Linked DNA regions of Homo sapiens: region 2 is linked to region 1. Evidence: promoter capture Hi-C in 16 types of primary human blood cells and fetal thymus (Javierre and others, 2016). All regions are on one chromosome and are shown on one strand. Each heading gives the region's core, a stretch centred on a gene start or on the middle of the fragment in contact. The rest is flanking DNA. Distances are from core to core; before and after follow the strand shown.

Region 1 (2,719 bases), core at 192-2,691:
GATTGGGGTAAAATGCACTAACTCTGAACCCTAGTTTTTTCATCCGTAAATGAGAGCAACAGTACGTAACTCACAGGGCTATCGTGAAGTGGAGCGTCCCTCTGTGACCTCTAACCAGTCCCAGCCTGAGTCACATTATAAGAAAATTTATAAGGCACTATCTTGTAAATACTTAAGATTTAACATCTTCCCTTCACCTCTACGTCCACTCTTTTCATACCTTTTTCCTGCCTAGCATGTGTCAAACTCAAAGGACTGGGCACAGAGCACAGAGGTTGTGTGCTTTGTCCAGCTTTGAGGTCAGAGATTGGCTAAATAATCTCTGAGGCTGGGGTCTTAAAAAAAAACAACAAAAAACAAAACTAACAAAACCTTAAGTCCGTTCCGCCCGTGACTTTAAATAATTATGTAGAGGAATGTAATACGTTAAAAGCAAGGGGATGAGGGGGCCCATTGATGGTAGATGGTTTTATGCCCGCCTGCAGCTAAAGAAATGATTTCTAAAACCTCTTTTGGGGGTGGGAGATGGAGTGCTCCAGAGATTTCTCTTCGAGCTCCTTCATTCCTGAACTGCCTGCCTTTTCAAAGGAAAAAAGGTCCAGCTGCGGTGGGCTGGAGGCCGTGGTGAGTGGGTGGGGGTCGACCCTGGCGGCTTCCTCTGCCCCGCTCCCTACCGTTGCTCCGAAGCCCGCTTGGGCTTCCGAGGGTCCGCCGAGGCTCGGGCCACGCCCAGTCCGAGTGCCAGGCCAGAGGGTACCCATTCCAGGCCGGCCTTCCTCCCCAGGGGGAGCAGCCTTGGGAGCGAGGCGCCGAGGCGGCCCTCGGGCTCGGCTTCCAGCTCGGGGGCCTCGGCAGAGACTAGGAACCAGACTGGGGCAGCACTGGGGCGCCCGCCACCCCCACCCACTCCGGCAAGCGGGCGAATCAGCGCGGCTAACCCGCGGCGCCCAGGCGGGCTGCGGGACCTCGCGACCTCCGCTCGGCGGCCCCGCCCCTGCCCGCGAGCCCCGGGTGGCTCCCTCCTCCCCTCTGCCAGCGGCCCGCCCCCTCCTCGCGAGCTAACGAGTGTCTCTCGCGCGCTCCCTTCCCTCCGCGTGGGTGTGAGTGCGCGATCCTCCTACCTCGGCCTTCTCCCCATTGTTTCTTCGCGGCCACCACGAGACCCCTCCCCCCAGTGCTGTTTCCCCCCTCCCCCGCCCCGGTGTAAACGGTGCCTGTGGGGCCCCCCGAACGAAGGGAGGGGGCACCCCTGAACCCTTCCCTCTGCGCGTAGCTCCTCCTCTCCCGGGCCAGGACCCCATTACAGGCTCTGTCCTCTCCCCTCCCCCTCTCCCCCGGCAACCGCTCTCCCTCGCCCCCTCCCCTCAGCGGGTCCTCCTCTTTCTCTCCCTCTCCCTCTCCCTCCTCCTCCCCCTCCCCATCCCTTCCCCCCCACAATGCAGTTCGCGGCGCGGCGGACATGGCGGTGGAGTCCTGAGCTAGTCGTGTCCCGGCCTCCAGCGGCGGCAGCGGCGACGGCGGCGGCAGCAGGAGGCGGAGGGAGAGCAGGAGCCACTGAGATGAGGAGGCGTCGCGCGCGCCTGTAGCTCGCGGGCCTCGCAGGTACGAGGTTCCGGCCGCGGGGCAGCGTCGGGTACCGAGGGGGTGTGCTCGGGAAGGCCGGGCGGCCCCCGGTTCGCCCTCCCCAGGTGCCGCGCTTCGCAGGTGTCGGGGGCCTGGCCTGAGAGCGTCTCAGCCGCCCCCTGGGGGCCTGACACTTCTTTCTTTCCTGGAACGGGCTTCGGGTGTCCCAGGGGAAGGCTGAGATAAGGGAGGTGGGGACGGCGGCCTGGGCGGCCTGAGGAGGGCATTGGGGCGCTTTGGGGACGAACTCCACACTGTGGCTGGGGCTCCCGGTCCCGGACCGAAACCTGTTGTAGACCAGCGGGGCGGATTTTGAGTTAACGGGATTGGTTTGAACATTTCTGTTGGGTCCAGTTACGATTCCCTGTCATGTGTACCTTTTTCTTTCACCCTTGCTTAGACATAGGTGACTACATAATGTATATAAATGTATACACGCATATAATACATACTGAATGTTTCCCCGGGCTCGTCCTTGTAGGGAGAAGGCAGAGGTGTCTGTGTGGATTTTGTTTCTTGCTCGCCCGCCTTCTCTCTCCCCCGCCCCCCAGTCGAAAGGTGGTAATGCGCGGTTTTGACGTGGGTAACTGAGATTCGTATTTGTAAACAGATAGCGCTCTCCTAGTGTGTTGCACGCCTCTGCGAAGGGTTTCAGACTCCTGTTGGTATCTGGATTGCGAAAGAATGAGATGTTTAGACCTGAAAGAAGCACATCAGCGGGATTTCTAGTCGTACTTGAATGGGATGAATTACTGTTGTATTAACAACGTTGATTACACATTTTCTTTTCAGAAGATTTCGAAGTCTTAGATGAATTTTGCGTGAGATCTTAGATACCGTATATCTGCTTCTTCATTTTGATAGAAGTAGTAGTTCCTTACACATTTGACCTGCCCTATCGTGATCTTAAATTGTGTCCAGAAATGCAATTCGAATTGTGTATTGTTGGCATGCATTTAGTAATTAGCCCGAGTGGATCAGATGGCCTTTTATTTCCAAAGATTTTTTCCCTCCAGTCTTACAGCAGCGAAATGTTTGTAGCACTTGATGAAACAGAACATATCCTGTTTCTGTTTTTAAAGTAATGAGAACTGTT
Region 2 (2,700 bases), core at 150-2,649, 110 kb before region 1:
GACATCTGCAGCCACAGGACAAAGAGCTAAGAGAGATGGAGAAGAGGGAGGGGTGTGGAACCGCAGGGAGCTGCGAGGGGCTTACGGCTTCCATGGTAACCTACAGCAGCCAGGAGAGAAGGCGGGGCTTGAGAACCCGGAGCTGGAGGTTTAGAAGATGAAGGTTTCACAATGAAGCTCCCTACTTCCCGGAGAAAGGCCTCCTTGGAGATAAGGCTGGCTGCACGACAGCAGCCCTCTGTGCTGGACAAGTAGTGATTTTGCCCTGTGCTTGAATAAACAAACCATGGCACTTTCCACAGTGTATTTAACTGTCTATTTAACCTAGCAGTCTTCCTCCAGTAGCCTGAGAATTCCCTGAGGGCAGGAATTATGACTGATTCATTTCTTTGTTCCTAGAGCCCAGGACAAGACCTGGCACACAAAAGATAGTCTGTTGGTTAGCGGACTATGGCTGAAGGTGGGGCTAGAGAGATCTACTTGTCCAGAGCCCTTGGAGCCCTAAGGGGTACTCTCTTTAAAACAGAAAGGGTGGGGGGGCGGTACCTCACGCCTGTAATCCCAGCACTTTGGGAGGCCTAAGTGGGCAGATCACTTGAGGTCTGGAGTTCAAGACCAGCCTGGCCAACACGGTAAAACCCCATCTTTATTTAAAAAAAAAAAAAAAAAATTAGCCGGGCATATTGGCAGGGGCCTGTAATCCCAGCTACTCACAAGGCTGAGGCAGGAGAATCACTTGAACCCGGGAGGTGGAGGTTGCAGTGAGCTGAGATTGAGACATCGCACTCCAGCCTGGGTGACAGAGCAAGACTCTGTCTCAATAAATAAATAAATAAATAAAATAAAATAAAATAGAAAGTTGACAGGATAGAATGCTTCCTCTACCTGGATGAGACCCTTCAAGTATTGCCATGGTCCATCAAGATTAAGTTCAACCCCTGCTTCCTCCATGAAGGCTTCCAGACTGTTTCTTTTCTCCTGCCTTAGAATCTTTGCAACTCTAATGGTCCTTACCCCACATCTTGGCATTTGTTTGGGATCTCTCTCTGACTGTTCTCTAGGGGTTTCACGGGTCAAACCTACTCTTCATCTCTAGTAAGTAAGGCCTGAAGGGCGGGGTTGCAGGATTATTATTATTTTTTTTTTTTTGAGACGGAGTCTTGCTCTGTCACCCAGGCTGGAGTGCAGTGGCGCAATCTCAGATCACCGCAACCTCCTCCTCCTGGGTTCAAGCGATTCTCCTGCCTCAGCCTCCCGAGTAGCTGGGATTACAGGCACCTGCCACCATGCCTGGCTAATTTTTTGTATTTTTAGTAGAGACGGGGTTTCACCATGTTGACCAGGCTGGTCTGGAACTCCTGACCTCAGGTTATCCGCCCTCCTTGGCCTCCCAAAGTGCTGGGATTATAGCTGTGAGCCACCATGCCCGGCCGTATTCTATTCTAAGGGCTTGTCACAGTGGTGGGCCCACAGTGTGTCTTCAGTCAACTCTCTCAGAGTGGGTCATCTGCTCTGGGTGGCCTTGATCCTGTGAGGGATGGAGAAGGTATGCAAGGAGCCCTTCACACCCCTGTGAGTGTTCCACACACGAGACTTCCCAGGTGGGACCCAGGGTTCTGGGACCGAGCAAGGCATGGAGCTCTCCTGGGCTGTGGCCTGCAGCCTGGCTTTGGCTGTCTTGTGCCCTGGCCCCTGAGCCAACAGGCACAGATCAGGAGGAGCAGTGTCATGAGTCAGTCAGGCAGTAGAATGGCCTCCCCCTGACCGGAGGACAGATGTCTAGGGCCCAAGTCATTTCTTGTGGATACATGAGACATCACTGTCCTTTAGACTTCTGAAGGATCTGCAACCAAAGGGCCCCAAAGGCAGAGATCCTGAATGGCAAATTTCACTTCAATGTTACAGAGAACAGGAAGCAAGTGCTCACAAAAGGTGTTGTCGAGTTCCTTTCCATGCTTGAAACCCTTTCCTGTGGCTCCCTTTTGCCCTCGGGATAAAGACCAAGCCCCTTAATATGGCAAAGGCTTCAGGACTTGGCTCGTCTACCCTTCCAGCTTCATCTTTCACCATTCCCACCTTGTGTCTACCCAAACTGAACTACTTATTGTTACCTGAAAGAACCATATGGTCTCTCTTAGCCATAGGTCTTCATGTATGCTGTTCCTTCTGCCTTAAATGCTGTTCCTCATCTTGTACCAGAAACCTCCTTTCACCTGTCAGTGGGTCCTTTAAACTTAATCCAGTTATTGCTTACTCCAGGAGGCCTTCCCAAAGTCTTTGGCTAGATTAGGGATCTTTTGTAAATGCCTGTAGCAATGAGCTTCTTGAAGATAGGGATCGGGACCTCATTTAGCCAAGATTCTGGCAGAAAATCATTGTCAATCAATGTTGAATGGACAAACAAATGTGAACGTCTGAGAAAAAAACACCTAGCAGGATAGCTGTAAAGGGGAGTGGAATGTTCTAACGTTTCCAAGTTCCAAGATTCAACATTCTCTAATTCTGGGCTGAAGATTCACTCCCCTCCATCCGAAGCCCACTCTCCAGCTAGCTCCTCCGCCCTGTGCCCTCTGAGTGTTTGTTCTCAGGCAGGCACACACACATGTTCTGAACATAACCGGGAAAGCAATTTACAAGAAATAATTGCCGGTCGATGTGTGCTTGGGAACAGCGGTGAGCTCAGACTATTTCTGTCTGCGT

What was found. The method cuts DNA at HindIII sites, captures the fragments that hold promoters and counts their contacts. A CHiCAGO score of 5 or more calls a contact.
Region 2: a contact is called between a fragment that was not itself captured here and the fragment with the promoter of TUT4 in region 1, in 1 of 17 cell types (naive B cells). The highest score is 5.9, in naive B cells.

The regions. Positions count from the first base shown.
Region 1 is chr1:52,551,814-52,554,532 of GRCh38, reverse strand. TUT4 (terminal uridylyl transferase 4) reads left to right here and starts at 1,441. Exons shown (of 30, transcript NM_001009881.3): 1 at 1,441-1,602. It overlaps LOC105378723 (a long non-coding RNA gene), which reads right to left. Exons shown (of 4, transcript XR_007066083.1): 4 at 1,696-2,292. RefSeq lists silencers at 739-1,138, 1,149-1,258, 1,299-1,428, 1,499-1,828. The HindIII fragment of the contact is 23,021 bases long and covers 1-2,719 here.
Region 2 is chr1:52,660,482-52,663,181 of GRCh38, reverse strand. It overlaps a transcript of SHISAL2A not described here. Among named protein-coding and RNA genes, the nearest start is that of SHISAL2A, 29 kb to the right of the region's middle. RefSeq lists a silencer at 1-225. The HindIII fragment of the contact is 3,239 bases long and covers 1-2,700 here.